6 separate regions of the Homo sapiens genome follow, and all the other regions are linked to region 4. The links are contacts of gene promoters, found by promoter capture Hi-C in blood cells and fetal thymus (Javierre and others, 2016). All regions are on one chromosome and are shown on one strand. The core of a region is centred on a gene start or on the middle of the fragment in contact, and the rest is flanking DNA. Distances in the headings are between cores, read along the strand shown.

Evidence for each region. The method cuts DNA at HindIII sites, captures the fragments that hold promoters and counts their contacts. A CHiCAGO score of 5 or more calls a contact.
Region 1: a contact is called between the fragment with the promoter of FZD1 here and the fragment with the promoter of MTERF1 in region 4, in 1 of 17 cell types (monocytes). The highest score is 6.2, in monocytes.
Region 2: a contact is called between a fragment that was not itself captured here and the fragment with the promoter of MTERF1 in region 4, in 2 of 17 cell types (non-activated CD4 T cells and fetal thymus). The highest score is 7.4, in non-activated CD4 T cells.
Region 3: a fragment that was not itself captured here is called in contact with the fragment with the promoter of MTERF1 in region 4 in 7 of 17 cell types (naive CD4 T cells, non-activated CD4 T cells, total CD4 T cells and 4 more); the score reaches 18.6 in naive CD4 T cells.
Region 5: a fragment that was not itself captured here is called in contact with the fragment with the promoter of MTERF1 in region 4 in 2 of 17 cell types (megakaryocytes and fetal thymus); the score reaches 8.5 in megakaryocytes.
Region 6: a fragment that was not itself captured here is called in contact with the fragment with the promoter of MTERF1 in region 4 in 1 of 17 cell types (fetal thymus); the score reaches 5.8 in fetal thymus.

What each region holds. Positions count from the first base shown.
Region 1 is chr7:91,263,152-91,265,851 of GRCh38, reverse strand. It overlaps FZD1 (frizzled class receptor 1), which reads right to left and starts at 1,419. Exons shown (of 1, transcript NM_003505.2): 1 at 1-1,419. The coding sequence starts at 971. RefSeq lists silencers at 675-734, 825-1,334 and an enhancer at 1,455-1,634. The HindIII fragment of the contact is 4,268 bases long and covers 1-2,700 here.
Region 2 is chr7:92,530,806-92,533,505 of GRCh38, reverse strand. RBM48 (RNA binding motif protein 48) reads right to left here. Exons shown (of 5, transcript NM_032120.4): 3 at 957-1,102. Among named protein-coding and RNA genes, the nearest start is that of RBM48, 3.4 kb to the right of the region's middle. The HindIII fragment of the contact is 286 bases long and covers 1,162-1,447 here.
Region 3 is chr7:91,086,853-91,089,552 of GRCh38, reverse strand. The region is part of intron 12 of CDK14 (cyclin dependent kinase 14); the gene reads right to left. Among named protein-coding and RNA genes, the nearest start is that of FZD1, 180 kb to the left of the region's middle. The HindIII fragment of the contact is 5,564 bases long and covers 1-2,700 here.
Region 4 is chr7:91,879,253-91,881,955 of GRCh38, reverse strand. It overlaps MTERF1 (mitochondrial transcription termination factor 1), which reads left to right and starts at 1,254. Exons shown (of 3, transcript NM_006980.5): 1 at 1,254-1,299; 2 at 1,843-1,901. The coding sequence starts at 1,873. LOC112267986 (a long non-coding RNA gene) reads right to left here and starts at 1,154. Exons shown (of 2, transcript XR_002956514.2): 1 at 1,092-1,154. The HindIII fragment of the contact is 3,297 bases long and covers 498-2,703 here.
Region 5 is chr7:92,462,052-92,464,778 of GRCh38, reverse strand. It overlaps a transcript of GATAD1 not described here. Among named protein-coding and RNA genes, the nearest start is that of ERVW-1, 15 kb to the left of the region's middle. The HindIII fragment of the contact is 3,225 bases long and covers 1-2,727 here.
Region 6 is chr7:92,419,491-92,422,296 of GRCh38, reverse strand. It overlaps the pseudogene TMBIM7P. Among named protein-coding and RNA genes, the nearest start is that of GATAD1, 27 kb to the left of the region's middle. The HindIII fragment of the contact is 3,885 bases long and covers 1-2,806 here.

The sequences.
Region 1 (2,700 bases), core at 170-2,669, 620 kb after region 4:
CCAATCCAGGTGCGCGAGAAGCGCAGCTCCTCGGGCCCGAAGTACATGAGCCCATACACCTTGGTCGGCTCACAAGGTGCGCCGCAGTCCTTCTCCCCCAGGAAGTGGTAGTTGAGGTAGGAGGGCACCTTGAGGGCGCGCGGGCAGGAGAACTTGCCTCGCTCCGACGCGCCGGCGCCCCCCGGGAAGCCGCCACGGTGCCCTCCGCCGCCGTGCTGAGGGTTGCTGGTCCAGAACTCTGGAAGCAGCGAGGGCGTCGGGGTGCCCTTGTCGGACGTGTTCTGGCCCACGCACAGCTCGCCGGCGCCGTGCACCGGGAACTTCTCACACTTGAGCGTGTCTGGCCACTGGAAGCCGAACTTGTTCATGAGCGCCTCGCAGCCCTGGCGCGCGCGCTCGCACAGGGAGCGGCAGGGCGGCAGCGCCTGCTCTAGCACGGTGCACACGGGCGCGTACATGGAGCACAGGAAGAACTTGAGCTCAGCGGAACACTGCACTTTCACTAGAGGGTAGAACTGGTGCACCTCCAGGCCCGCGTCCTCCTGGTTCGTGTGGCCCAGCAGGTTGGGCATGATGGTCTGGTTGTACGCGATGTCCGTGCACAGCGGGATGGAGATGGGCTGGCAATAGCCGTGGTCCGGGACGGAGATGCCCCGCTCGCCGTTGTACTGCTGCCCGCTCTGTTGCTGCTGAGGCGGCGGCGGCGGTTGCTGCCCCGGCCCGGGCCCCTGGCCTGGCCCCTGGCCCGCCGCCTGGGCCCGGACCCCCAGCAGCAGCGGAGCCTCCAGCAGCCAAAGCAGCAGCAGCAGCTGGCGCGCCAATCGCCGGGGGTCAACTGGCGGGCGGCGGCGGCCACCGGCGTCCCCGCTGCCCTCCTCCGCCAGCCGGGCCGAGAGCGCCCCGGCACAAAGTTCCCAGCTCGCGCCACCGCCGGCGGCCCGGGACTTCTTAGGCGCCTCCTCCTCAGCCATACTTTCTCGGCTCCTCTCTTGGCGCCGCTCCGCTGGGGCTGCCAGGGGCACGGCCGGCGGCGGCTCCCCCTGCGGCCAGGGAGACCTCTGCGCGGGTGCCCTCCGTCGAGCCCAAGCCGCTTTCGGCCCGCTCCCCCGGCTCCTGTTCTGCGTACCGCAGCCGCCGCCGCCGCGGAAACTTGCGATTCATGAAGCGCGGGCGGCGGGGAGAACCCGGGTGGCTAGGGCGCGCCGGGGTCGTGTCCCGCCTTCCTGGCCCTCGGCTCGCTGGCTCCCGGCTGGCGGCGCCGCGCTAGTGGCCGCGGCCCCGTAGAGAGCGCAACTCTCCGCAGCCCAGCGGGCTCGGCTCCCCCCTGCGCCTCCGCCTCCTTCTCCGCCGCCGCCGCCTGACCATTTGTGTCAATCCCTCAACTCGCTCCCTCTCCTCTGCCTCGCGCGCCCTCGGACCGGTTTCCAGGCGCCCCGTAGTCTGTCTTTCACCAGGAGGGAGGAGCCTTGAAACCGACGCAGAACTGGAGGCTCAGGGACCGTCGCCCAATCGCGGCTCCGGCTTCCCGGCGCAAAGGGAGCCGGCCGCCTCCTCGCCAGAGCGAAAGCCAGCGGCAGGAGGGCGGGGTAGGAGGAGGCGGGAGGAGGAGGAAGTAGTGGTGGTGGCACTACTCAGGCACAAAGAGTAGGATTGCTCTGAAGCGGGACAGGCTTGGTTGCTTTTGCTTTTTCAGAAGAAAAAGGCGAGGATACGTAGGAGAATGGTCCCATATGCTGCTGGAGATAATGAATAGGAGTCAGAGGACCGCGGGACTTCGCTTTTCTTTTATTTTATCCATTATCATGTTTAAAAATCCTGCTCTTAACGCTGGTTACCAACAGCAAACCGGGTTCTGCTTCCAGAACAGATGCCTTTGACTTAAGGAGCGCACGGTTTCCTTTGAGTTTGTGTCTGTCGAGGTTTTGTTTAACATATTACATTAATAAATCCTCCAGTTCGCAGGCTGGGCTTGGCGGGCTTTGGTCGCGCCATTTCCCCAGAGGAGACGTTCACGGGATCGCTGTCAAATGAAACAAAACACAAACTTTGATGGAATTTGGAAAGTAAAGCCAGATGCGCCTTCTGCTACTATCATTCTTCTTGGAGTCAAACTCCTTTTTTTCCGCCTCTTTAATCAAGTCAGAAACAGAAGCAAAAGAAAACTATCCATTAAATTTTTGGAGAGAAAAACTTAAGAACCCGACGACCGAGGCAGTGGGGGCGCCTCTCTGGGATCGTCCTCGCCGCTCCAGACCGCAGAGGTGGCGCCGGCGGGAGCTGCACTCGCCGGCAGCTTGGGCCCCTGGGGAGCCTTTCTAAACCCTGGGGACGCCCACGGCTCCGATGGGAACTCCTGGGACCTGGGCCATTTAGGTTCCACAGGCTGGGCTGCAGAGCTGGAGACGCCAGTTTAATAAACAAAACAAACAAACAGTCTGAAAGCAAACAGCGAACTGCACATTCTCTTCCTAATTCCAAAACAGCATAATCCGTCTCAACAGACGCACATTAATGTTGTTTTCCTTGTAAGATTATTTTAAATGATGGTTTGACTATGTAATTCAGTTTTATAAGAAAAGTGCCATTGGACTATTAATTCTTCCATTTTTTTTTTTTTTTTGCCTGTGATCAGACTCTATCTCAGCGTACTTTTCACCAATTACTTTCTATCATTCATTTACACATTCATTTGTTTAATAG
Region 2 (2,700 bases), core at 55-2,554, 650 kb before region 4:
TCACCAACACTGAGATGATTAAAGCAGTTAAAAAGTAAACTCTGGACAGAGTCCAAAGCTTGGGTTTTAACCCTTATTTTGTCTTTAATTCATCTCTAATAATATAGGCAGGTCACAAACTTTCTGAGACTTAGTTTCCTCACCCAGAAAAATTAGGACCCAGGTCAGATAATGTCAAAGGTCTTTCTCCACATTAATATTTTATAATTTCCTTTGCCACACAAACATACAAGTTTTCCTGGTGCTATTTATTTACTTATCTTACAAGTTAGAGTTCAATGTCTGCAGATGACTGGGGATTCTCAACAGCTCTCTTACCAGATTTCTGAGTAAGTTTTCCAAGAGTTTTCCCACTTTATTTCTCTCCATCACTATGTGGTAGAACAGGCATGTGGGGGCATTTAGCCAATTGCTGGTCAAAAGTAGAACTTCTCCATGATTAGCAGTGACAACTATATGATTTGACAACTGCAAATCATAACTGCTTCTCACTGCATTCTGGTCAAAGCCTTAATTCCTTAGCATGGGACACAAGGCCCTCCATGATTCACTTCTTACCCACTTTTCTAAACTTATCTCTCACTGAAACCTTTGGGCTTTGGTTATACTGTATTAATTAAAGTTCCTTAAATGCATGATGCTCATTTATTCCTCTAAACATTTAAACATCTTGCCTGGCTTGCCTTTCCATCTTTTCCTCTCCCATTTAGTTAACGTCTACTTATCCTTTAAAATTCAGCCACTTCTCACATACTATAGGAAGTCTTCTATGAACCAATATTTCTCCCTTCTCAACCCAGATTATGTAGTGTGCTGCAGAGAACCCTGTGGTTCACAGTTACTGAATACTGTGATGGTTTACTTGCCTCTCCTACCACTAGACTGGGAATTGCATGATGACACACCTGGCAGAGTGCCTGACACACAGGAGGCATTTAGCAATATGCTTTCCATACCTTTATTTTCAGTAGTTTTTACTACATATGCCTTCCGCATTTGTAGTTTTTTTCTAGTTTCTTCAACTGTTTCAAATTCTGGAGCATAGCACACATGAAGCAATCCACCGAAGAAACTCTGTTCATCCATTTTTCTCTTGGCTGTCCTGAATGGAAATACAAGATAGCATAGTTTTTTAATCTAGATTTACTTGGGATGAAAGCTTAACTAGTATGCAATATCTGGATCTAAAGAGCAAAGTCCAGCTTTTGCTACGTGTATATATATCCTGTGGATTGGGAATTAAGATGCTCTGCTTGTGGACAGTATTCATCCCATTGATCGAGTATGTACTCGTAGAGCCTCCCCTTTCCTTCCCTTTGAGCCTCTTTGTTCCCTAGTCTTTAAACAACTAAGGACCCAGCTGGTTGGCCTGAAGTATGTAAACTGTGGTCATAAAATGGAGCTTTTCTCTGTGGCCCTGAAGAGTTGGTTCATACCCAATTAAGCTTTTTCAGCACTATGTATTTCTGTGATGGGATTCATGCCTTAAAAATCAGATGAAAGATACTATAATCATAAAACATTCAATAACTGAGGAACTATTAAATATATAACAATGAGAAAATGAGAAGAATGTTATTCAGTCAATAAATACTTACTAAACATCTATGACTGGCCAGGTACTACAATAAATTTAACTACTTCTATATCCAGGGATAATGATAAATACTTGTTGAGATTTCACCATATGCCAGGCAATGTCATAAGCGCTTCACTTGAATTAACACCTAAAAACAACACTGTAATGAAACTGAAGCACTGGGACATTATGTAACTTAGCCATGCTCATAGTCTGGTTTGAGGAGCAAGGATTCAAATCCAGATGTCTTACTTCAGAGCCTACCAGACTACGTACTATAGAAAACAGAAAAGCTCTAGAAAATGTTTCCCTAACCATGGGAGCTGGCAGGTTGGTTAAGAAAGTGAAATTACATATAACAGCAGCCTGAGAAAACCACACAAGACCCAGTAAAATCAAGTGCTTTTGTGGTAGACTATGAGTTCTACTGATAGCACAAGAAAGAAAATATGAATTGTAATAGCCAGAGAAGGATGGGTCTCAGAGCAGATTAGTGAGGAGAACAGAGATCAATATAAAAATAGATAAGGCACTGCATACTTCAGCCTTTTTGGAGCAGAGGATTATGTCACATAGAAGGCTGGAAAAAACTGAGTCAGTTTGCAGAAAGGAGTAACAGTAGAAACCACAATAGCTAATGTTTACTGTATTCTGACCAGGATACACCTTTATATGGATTATCTCATTTCATCCTCATACAACCCCAAGAAGTAGATAGGTCCCTTTACCATACAGATTTTATGGAAGAGGAAAAACTTAAACAGGTTAAATAACTTGCCCAAGATCATGAAGCTAGTAAGCAGTGGAAATGGAAAACTTACTCCAAACCCAACTTTTTTTTTCTTTTGAGACAGAGTCTCACTCCATCACCCAGGATGGAGTGTAGTGGCCCATAAGACTCACTGCAACCTCCACCTCCTGGGCTCAACTGATTCTCCTACCTCGGCCTCCCAAGTAGCTGGAACTACAGGAATGCACCAACACACCCAGCTTGATTTTTGTATTTTTACAAAATACAAAATACTGGCCATGTTGGCCAGTCTGGTCTCGAACTCCTGGGCTCAAGCAATCTGCCTACCTTGGCCTTCCAAAGTGCTGGGATCAAATCCAACTTTTTCTTT
Region 3 (2,700 bases), core at 127-2,626, 790 kb after region 4:
CCTCTACAGGCCACATGGATATACACATATGTGAAGATGCATAAATAGGGTTCAGTTATATCCAAATAGGATCATTAGTAAAGGTAAGATGAAAAAGAGGGGAGGAGGTTGGGTATATCTGCGTGTCTAAAAGGCTTTAGAATCAAGATGAGAAGCAATCAACATTTATAAGCCTCTGATAAACTTTACCTCTTCAGCCGACAGACATATAAGAAATTATAAACAGTAATATAGTCCTATCATGCCGTTTTCCCTGAGAAACTTAAAAGTATGTCGACAGTCATTTTTTCTTTGTTTTAACTAGGGAGGAGAGGCTGGGGAAGAAAGAGAAGGAAGAATGGTTGACGTGGTTTGATGCCTTTTCCTAACATCTCCAAAGTACATCAGTTTTGATCTAAAACTTATTAAAACTCAGTTCTAAATTAGCAAATAAAAGCCAAAGCATTTAAAGAAGTACACATGATTTTATCCCTAAAAGTTTAATCTTTTAAGCCCTGGCTTCAGTGAAGTAGTTAAAATCTGGCCTAAGAAATGAGAACTACCCTTCATCTTTACTTCAAATCGATTCTTTTGCAATAGTTGTGCCATAAACACACACTCACACACACACATGCACACTCACAGCTGGTATGTTTATTGGTTTAGTCACTAAAGGATTTAGCTGGACAAACATCACAAAGATGATGGCTGATTTAATTGAATTTATGATCAAATGTTTTCTATTGCAGGAAGAGTGGGAAATCACTTATGGGGAGATTTGAATAATTTAAGGGAAGTTCTCTATTTGGCATTATGTTTGTATATCAAGTCTTGAGGGATTAAATACAGCTGAGGACTAGCAGAGAATTCACATAGAGATACACAAAGATATGCTGTATAACAATATAATGAGGGCCAGAATATTGATCCCTTTAATATTTCTATTCATTTGTCTCATTTATAGTCTGAGTAATAATAACCACACACACACACACACACACACATATATATAAACTCTATGAGACTTCCATTGTAAACCAATACTAGATTTTTCTGAAATCCCAAAGATGTTGAAATGATTTTAAAATATTCTTTCAGAGAAGACAGAAAAATAATTGTGTTGGGAGTTGTGTATGTGTGTGTTTCAGGCTTTTCAGTGCATTTTTGTTGTTGTTAAAGACATAATGAAATCTGTTGTTAAAGTAAATGTCACTGCCATGATGGAAATAACCGTTTAACATGGGATCTGTGCCTTAGGGTATGGATGTGGCTCAGTGTCTAAAAGAAAAAGGCCAGTTACTTTCAGAATCCCCTTCCCATTTTCCTCACCACAACAGATATGGCATGGCCATGCTCCCAGCCTTTATTCATTGTGTTTTGAGAGATAATTCATCTACCTTCCCCCTTTAAATGCTGTAAACAGCAAGGATAATTACTTTTAGTCTCACCTCTGAAATGACTGGGCCAAATGGATGCCCAGATCCCACACATCTGGCTTAGGGTTATCCATCAGTTTGTGTACAGGTTATATTACAAGAAAAGGTCCAATAGACATTTGAACTTGGTAACAGTGACCTGTCTATGGGTTTCTTTCAATCTAATTTGGAAAACTGTCTAATAAAATGTGTTTCAAGACTAAGAACAAATCACAGTATTGCATTAATTATGTACAACGCTATTTGTTAACACACCACTCTTAGGAAGAAACTGTTGAGGAAGGGGAAATCTTGTTTTTACACAACAAGCATTAAAAAAAAAAAGTTTTGGTGACCAAGCAGTTCAGCATGTGCCCCTAAGAAGGTAAAAAGAATATTCCAGAAGATGTCTGGGGACTCTATGTAGGAGTGGTATCCATGTTCAAGAGTAATTGCTTATTCGGAGCTGAATGAAACGCTCTCACTGGGAGGTAGGACAGGGAGCACTGAAAAAGAGAAGGGAGGTAAACTAATATTTGCCAAAGGACTGTGTCTAGTAAGGTACCCAGTAATTTATACCCTTACCTTACTTAAAGATTAAACAATAATCCTGCCAAGAGGTTATACAAATTGAAAAGCTGAGGCTCAGAGAGGTTAATGAGCTTCCTGAATATTACACAGCTCAGTAGTGGAACTAGGGATGAACCTGGTTCCTATGCTACCAAAGATGATGCTGGCTCCAAGCATTTAATTGCTATTTGTGTCAATAATTAGCTTGTGCAACCTTCCTTCCTCTCTTCTGTTTTTTTCTTTGCTATGTCAATACTATTTATTGATGGTATATTCTTAGGTCAGTAAGACCACTATGTACACAACATGTTAGATGCAGGTGTTAATAAGAATACTCTAGGAGCTCTATCCTCACAATGAATAGAAATTGAGCCCCAGTATTATAAAGTCTCCCCAAATGAAGAGAGGGATATATTGTTTCATGAAAATCAAATAAGTAGAAGGTGGAATGGGTAACAGTGGATACTAGGGATGACATTGTTGTTAAAATCATCTCTTTCTTAGCTAGGGATGGTGGTAGGTACTTATAGTCCCAGCTACTTGGGAGGCTGAGGTGGGAGGATTGCTTGAGCCCTGGAGGTCAAGGCTGTAGTGAGCCATGATCATGCCACTGCAGCCTGGGCAATAAAGCTGCAAAAAAACAAAACAAAAACGCTAAAAGCGAATAGTGTTTTTCTCCAGTGACTTCTTATATTCATCTTTATTTTGAGGCTGAACATTCACTAAATTTGTAAAT
Region 4 (2,703 bases), core at 5-2,504:
AGACAAGGTTCACTGTGTCACCCAGGCTAGAGTGTAGTGGCACAATCACGGCTCACTGCAGCCTCAACCTCCCAGGCTCAGGTGATTCTCCCACCTTAGCCTCCCAAGTAGCTGGGACTACAGGCACCTGTGACCACGCCTGGCTAATGTTTGTACTTTTTGTAGAGATGGGGTTTCACCATGTTGGCCAGGCTGGTCTCGAACTCCTGGCCTCAAGCCATCCTCCCGCCTTGGCCTCCCAAAGTGCTGGGATTACAGGCATGAGCCATCGCGCCCGGCCAGAAAATTACATCATTAGGCTTGTACATGGAGGAGTTAGTAATGCCTGAAATTTTTCCTCTTTGTAGAATTCAGGGTCAATCCTGTTGATCCTGTGTTTTTTTAAGGACCAAATCACCATCGTCTCCTGAGGATAACTCGACAGACACAATTAATTCATTAATGTAGATATTATCTTTCTTTTGATGGTCACAGGAGAAGTGCCTTGAATTGAAGCTTTATCTCTTCCATTGTCACCATCACTAGGCAGGTGAGGCTGACAGGACCGCGTGGCTTAAGGCAACGCCTCGGGAGGGAGCAAAAATGCATCCACTGTGGAGATGAGGTTTCGGTTGCCTCCATTCTTTAAATAGCGCAAACCCTCACAATGTCAAAAGAATCATATTTGAATTCGAACTGCAAGTAAGGAAATCGAAGTATACTAGAATTGATTTCCAGCCTGAAGGCGGATGCTGAATTCAGACCAGCAGTGACACTCCAGGATTTCCACGGTAGTTCATTAAAGGAGGAGAATCTGGGACTAAACAGACAGAGTCTACACCCGCTTATCCTGCACCAAAAAACGCCGAGATGTTCATCGGCATCGCGTTAGTCACATTAGCAGCAGCAATCGCATTATCAAAAACTGCAACACGCATGTAAATAATAGCTACTTTTCCACCACGTGTCGTCGGCCGGCAGTGGATGCCCCCTGTAGGATCCCTATAAGATGCCTTACAGTTCCCCACGGACATCTGCCCAGGCGACTGGGAGTCCCAGGCCCCACCCCACCCTCCAAACCCCTTCTTTGGCGTTCAATACCCCGCGCTCACCGCGGTCTCTTGCTGCCCCCTGCCAGGCCCCTAGCGTCGGGCTGCGAAGGGCTGAAGTACCGCCACGAGGGGGCGCAGGACCAACGACATCACCTCTGCGCGCGACCCGAGGCCGGAAGTTAGTCTTTTCCACTTCCGCTCCTCCTAGCCGCTCCGGACCCCAGAGGCGGAAGTAAAAGCGAACTACAGTGGATGGGTGCAGTTCAGGGTGAGATTGGGAAGGTGGTGAGGCTGTGCTTTCCTTTCTTTTTGTTAAGAAGTGGGTGTGGGTGACTGCTGTACAGTGCAGCCCTTTGCAGATTTGTCTTTGGAGGAGGAAGAGGGATGGAAAGAGCCTTCGGTGTGGAATTACCTTGGTTTTGAGTTAAGAAAGACCCACCTGGGTTCGAACCCTAATGCTTCAGCTAGCGAAGGCAGGCTAGTATGGGAGCTCGGCGCTGTTTCAGATTTTGTAATTTTAAGGCTTATGCCTACCTTTTAAATTGTTGTGGGGAGTAAAGCGAGACAATATATATGAAGCACTTAGCTTTGGTACAAAACGTATTCGTGATTCCGCTACCTTTTCCCATCATATGTAGGCATGTACTTGCCGTTTTCTTTTCTGTATGTCTGAGAAATGTTGTTTGCAAGAGGTAATGCATCTCACGAGAACATAATGCAACGAGAACGTTAGCTGGGATCGATCTCTTATTTTGTATTAGGAAGGCCTGAAATATTTTGCCTTTTTTTTGTGTGTGTGTGTCATTTCCAGAGATAGCTGTTCTCCAGCCTTTCTGGAGGGATGCAGAGCCTTTCCTTAGGACAAACAAGGTGAGAAATGCATGTAAAGATCTCCAAACTTAGCTTGCTGTATCAAAAGAAGACCAGCTGGAATGTGGTATTTTAGGGCCAGTGATTAGTTATTTCCATTAACAGCCTTTTTAACAGGCCAGTTGTGGGGCAGAGGCGAACGTAAATCTTTTTTTAGACCCCTCATACTACAAGCATAGAAATTTTCAGTGTTTGTTAAGTTTGAACATTAGCCCTTTGGATAATGGTTTTGGTTAATTAAAAAGTCAATTTGAGAAATAGATCGAAGTCAATTTTTGAATAGGTACCATTTTTGAAATTTGTACGTGAGGAAAGTTGCTAACTTTCTTGTATTAGGCTATTTAGATGTTCATTTACCCTACTAGATATTATGAGTATTTTGAATGGAGATCCGTTGCTAAGAGTAAAGCATCATGGAGAATTTTGAAGTGTGACTTTTTTGGTACTAGAAACCGAAAAATAGATAAAGATAATTTGTATTTTCCATTGTTTTTCACACCAAAGGCCAGTTTTACTTGTTTAAATTTTTTCATCTGACTGCAAAGTAACACATATTCATTAAATAAAGTCCCAGTATTTCAGAAGTAGTACATAGCCTCTAATAATCTTTCAGAAATAAGTGTCATTCCACTTTCCCCCTCTGTATATATTAACGTCCCCCTCCCCGCCTTTAATATACATGGCATTATCCATACTGTTAAGCAGTTTGTCATGTAGAATATCTGACATCTTTTGATTGCAGTAGATCGGCCTTTATTTTTGGCACCTTTATAGTATATTGCATAGATGTACCACAATTTAT
Region 5 (2,727 bases), core at 186-2,685, 580 kb before region 4:
CTAGCTTGCTCTGAAAAACGATGCCTTTGCTGAAGCCACTCTTCTGGTTGTCCTTTTATGGCCTGTCCCCATTTCAGTGATTCCCCTGCAAGCTGAAGCATGCAGCAGTTAGACCAGTTTTTCCATTCTTCTTAATTCCCAAGGCCCTTTCCTAGGCTTTCATAATGCAAGACACAAGGACAGATGATTATTATTTCTAGGCTTCGGATATTTGTGCAGAGGACTAGAGTTGAGAAAGGGAGCCTTGACTGTGGTAGGCCTGAATGTGTTCTAAGTTTGGACATGACCTCAGAGTGAGCACTGAGGCTGGCCCACAGGCCAGAAACCCACAAAAATATGGCTGTCCATCTTGCCCACCTGCCTAACAGTTTGTCCCATAAAAGCATTAAATTAGGAGACAGAAATCAACTAGGTGCAGAGTTTTGTTACTGCATTGCACGTCTCCTGAGTTCTCAAATCCGTATTTTCAATTATCTAATGGATATTCAAGTCCAGGAGATGGCTCACAGTCCTCACATTACAAAACAGAACACACACCTCACATCACATGCAAATCTCCACCTAGCCTTGTTTACTAACTGGGAGATTTTTAAATTATAAGAATCAAGTAGGATCTTTGCCCACGTATTTTTTTAAGAGTTTTTCACCTACCAAAAAGTTGTACTCAATGTCTTCCTTAATTCATCCTCCTCACTCAGTCTCTATTTACAACTGGTTATTAAATTCTGTTGACTTTATCTCCTATATATCTATTTTTTAAAGATTATGGTAAAATATGCATAACAAAACTTACAATTTTAACCTTTTTTTTGAGACTAAGTCTCGCTCTGTCCCCCAGGCTGGAGTGCAGTGGCGCAATCTCAACTCACTGCAACCTCTGCCTCCTGGGTTCAAGCAATTCCTAGGCCTCATCCTCCCAGCAGCTGGGACTACAGGCACCCACCACCACACTCGACTAATTTTTGTATTTTTAATAGAGATGGGGTTTCGCCACGTTGGCCAGGCTGGTCCTTAACTCTTGACCTCAACTGATCTGCCTGCCTTGGCCTCCCAAAGTGCTGAAATTACAGGCATGAGCCACCGCACCCAGGTATCAACCTTTTTTTTTTTTTTTTTGAGACGGAATCTGGCTCTGTTGCCCAGGCTGGAGTGCAGTGGCGCGATCTCAGCTCACTGCAAGCTCCGACTCCCAGGTCACACCATTCTCCTGCCTCAGCCTCCCGAGTAGCTGGGACTACAGGTGCCTGCCACCATGCCCGGCTAATTTTTTTTTTATTTGTTTTTATTTTTTAGTAGAGACAGGGTTTCACCATGTTAGCCAGAATGGTCTCAATCTCCTGACCTCATGATCCGCCTGTCTTGGCCTCCCAAAGTTCTGGGATTTACAGCCATGAGCCACTGCGCCAGCCCAGTATTAACCATTTTTAAGTGTACAATTTAGTGTCATTAAGTACATTCATCATGTTGACTACTGTCACTACCCATTTCCAGAATTTTTTCAAAATCACTCCAAACCGAAAATTTGTACCCACAATACCCCTCTTCCCACAACCCTGGTAACCTCTAATGTTCTGTATCTATGACATAATTTGCCTATTCTAGGTAACTAACTCATATAAGTGGAATTATACAATATTTGTCCTTTTAAGTTTGGCTTATTTCCATTAACATGTTTTCAAGGTTCATCATTATAGCATGTATCAGAATTTCATTCCTTCTACGGCTGAATAATATCCCACTGCACGACCTCACCACGTTTTGATCATCCATTCGTCTGCTGATGGGTCCTTGTGTTGTTTCTATCTCTGTCAGCTTGGGCTGCTGCAACAAAATACCGTAGCCTGAGTGGTTTAAACAACACACATTCATTTCTCACAGTTCTGGATGCTGAGAACCCAAGAGCAAGGTGCTAGCAGATTTGGGTTCTGGTGAGAGCTCTCTTCCTGGCTGTGGCCACCTTCTGGCTGTCTTCTTACATAGTGAGGAGAGAAAGGAAGGCTTTGGTCTGTTCTCCTCTTCCTAAAAGGACACTAATTCCACTATGCGGGCTCCACCCTCATGACCTCGTAGAAATCTGATTACCTCCCAAAGGCCCTACTCCCCTAATACCATTGCCTTGGGGGCCAGGGCTTTAACATATGAACTTGGGGCATGGGGATCAGGCACACATTCAGCCTGTAACACCATTTAGATTACCATCTTTGGACCTAAATATCTATTTTAAAGTTGTATTTTTTTCCTGACTACGTAAGTAGTGGATGCTAGTAATACAAACTTCAAAATTTTTAAAAGCATAAAGAATATTAAAATGACTGTAATTCCAACTATGCTTGTTATTTTGTTTGTTCCAGTTTTCTTTATATGCATATGTATGCATGTGTATATGTGTGTGTTTTTGTTTTTTTTTTTTACAAAATCAGAATCATTATGTAGTTGTGTCCAGGTTTTACACTAAACATTTTATAAACTTTTTTTTGCGTTATTAAAAATTATTTGTAAATGGTATTTCTGATGACAGCATAAAATTCTATTAGAAAAATATCAAAATTCATTTTCCTATTGTTGGACCTTTAGATTGTTTCTGGTTTTTCACAACTTTAAATACTGTTAACAACTTCTTTTTATACCCATTTTTTGGTCCACATTTTAAATCCTCTTAGCATGGATTCTTAGAAATGAAATTACTGGATCAAGAAGTACTTTTAATACTTTTAAGATTATAGATAC
Region 6 (2,806 bases), core at 177-2,676, 540 kb before region 4:
TCTCTGGTTTTAGTTTCTACAAGGCCGAGGAAGTGTCATGGGCAACAGCTGCAACCACTCTGGTGATGCTAGCACTCACTTTGTTTGCTCTACAAACAAAAGTAGGTATTATTGAAGGGAGTGTGCCAGGTATGTCCCTTTGTCCCCAACCCATTTTCCTATGCCTTCCCCTGCTCTCTCAGTCCTGGAGGTCTCACCTCCAGGGCCCTCTTGCCTTAGGGCTTTCCATGGGCTTTGGCCAATGGGGAGTTCCAGCTGGAGACAGGAGGCAGGAAGAGAGAGGTACTGATTCCTATGGCTTCCTCCCAATGACAAGTTCCTCTTGGGCTAGCGGTGTGCCTTAGCAAGATTCACTGCCTGTCACAAGGTGGCCAACTCAACACAACCTTCTGGACTCCTGTAACTGCCCCCTCTCCTTTCCTCTTTGGGCCTGGGGCTGGTAACAGCTCTTTGGCTGGCTGCCAGACTAGCTTACTTCACTACCCGTTCTGGTTGCCTGCAGACACTTCTGTGGAGAGTTCCTTTACAAACAAACCCTCCTCAAATCATCCTATTTGAGTGTGTCATCTGTTCCTTGCTGGGGCCCTGACTGATACAGGGAATTTAAAAATTTAAAAGTTGTACAGTTTACCAGGCTCCAAAATGCCAAGATGTCCCAGAGAACATCTCATAATTTGAGATTATTTCAGTTGAATTGTGAGATGGCTCAGCCTCTGTCCAACCATAGGGTGTTCTTGAGATCTGATGCAGCATTTCCTGCGGCCCCTCCTTTCAGTCCTGGTCAATTTCCTTTTGTAAAGCATGGGCTGGCCTTAGTTAGGTAAATAACTTACACAGAAGGGAGTGCATTTCCCAAGCTGTTTGGCACACATCATAAGGAAGATCTTACACACATGCAGAATTTTAGCATTTTCCTAGTGGAAAAAGAAGTGTCAGAGAGACAGAAGGATCTACTAGATATTTAGTTAAACTGTATCAAAAGTTAGAGATTCAACTTTAATTCATGATGAGATCAGTATTTGCCATCTTAAAGCTGGCCATTTGTAGAAACCAGCCTATTTGTAAATAGATAGGCTTCCTTGCAATGAGTAAGGTGGACCACTGTTGAATGCACAGACTCCTTAAGCCATTTAAAATCCTCTAAGCTGGCCAGGTGTGGTGGCTCATGCCTGTAATCCCAGCACTTTCGGGAAGCCAAGGCGGGCGGATCACAAGGTCAAGAGATCGAGACCATCCTGGCCAACATGGTAAAACCCCGTCTCTACTAAAAATACAAAAATCAGCTGGGTGTGGTGGCGTGCGCCTGTAGTCCCATCTACTCAGGAGGCTGAGGCAGGAGAATCGCTTGAACCCCGGAGGCGGAGGTTGCAGTGAACCGAGATCGTGCCACTGCACTCCAGCCTGGTGACAGAATGAGACTATGTCTCAAAAAAAAAAATCCTCTAAACTGCCAGAATACTTTTTAAAAAGCCCATTAGTATTTTAAGTCACAGGTAACCTATGACCTGGGTTCAGGGGAGTGAATATTGCATTGCAAAGCATTTTATTTTATTGTTTGTTTATTTATTTATTTTTGAGACAGGCTCTTGCCCTGTCACCCAGGCTGGAGTGCAGTGGTGCAGACATGGCTCATTGCAGCCTCTGCTTCCAGGGCTCAAGTGATCCTCCCATCTCAGCCTCCCAAGTAGCTGGGACTACAAGCATTTGCCACCACACCTGGCTAATTTTTAAATATTTTGTAGAGTAGGGTTCTCCTTATGTTGCCCAGGCTGGTCTTGAATTCCTAGGCTCAAGTGATTCTCCCTCCTCACCTCCAAAACTGCTAGGATTACAGGCATGAGCCACTATGCCCGGCCAGAAAATATTTTAAAGATGGTATTCACATTGATGACTTTGAAAGGCAGCTGAACCCATGGTCAACCACATTCTTCTCCCTTATTATGTATTGGAGATGGCAAAATTCAGTCCAACCACAACCCAAGCAGTGTAGAGGAAATGTAGGAACACAATGAGTCTTGAGTTTTTTCATGAACCCCAACTGTCCACTTAGCAGGGAGAAAATTAACTAAATGTCCATTTGGTTTAACTGTAATTGGACCTCACAGTTGAAGCAGTTCCTTTGGGCTGGGTGATAGTGTCATGTGGATACAAAACACTCAGCTGCTCAGCCTCCCTGTCTCCCTGCCTTTCTCTCTAAAGTGGGGTCTGGGAATATGGGATGTGACTGTGGTTTGTGTGGGCTCTTGGCACTGGCCAAGAAGGGGACAGGGCGAGGATGGGGTGGGGATGCTACCGTCCACCATTGTTCCTGAATGACTGTCACCTGGACCCCAGAGTGACTGCCTGCTCTGTGGGCCTCTGAAGCTGACAACCCACCACAGGTGTGACTTGGAACCTGCTCTCTCTTGGGCTTGGTCAGAGCTGACAGGGCTCCCCACCTGAATTTACCTCACCCCAGTTATCCTTCCTTAATGATGTCACATCTTCTTTCTGCCAACAAGGAGCAAGCCTTAGGGTTTCATTGTCCTAAGCCAGATTTACTGCTCTCCAGACCTGGGTTGTCCAAGAGAAGTATAATGTGAGCCACAAATGCAAGTCATATGTATAATCTTAAATTTTCTAGTAACTACAGTAAAAAGTCAAAAGGGACAGGTGACATTCTTTAGATAGTATATTTTATTTAACCATATAACTCATAACCATATATATATATATATATATATATATATATATGCAGCATTACCATTTTGACACGTAATCCACATAACCCAAATATGAATGAGATATTTTACTTTTTTTGAGCTGA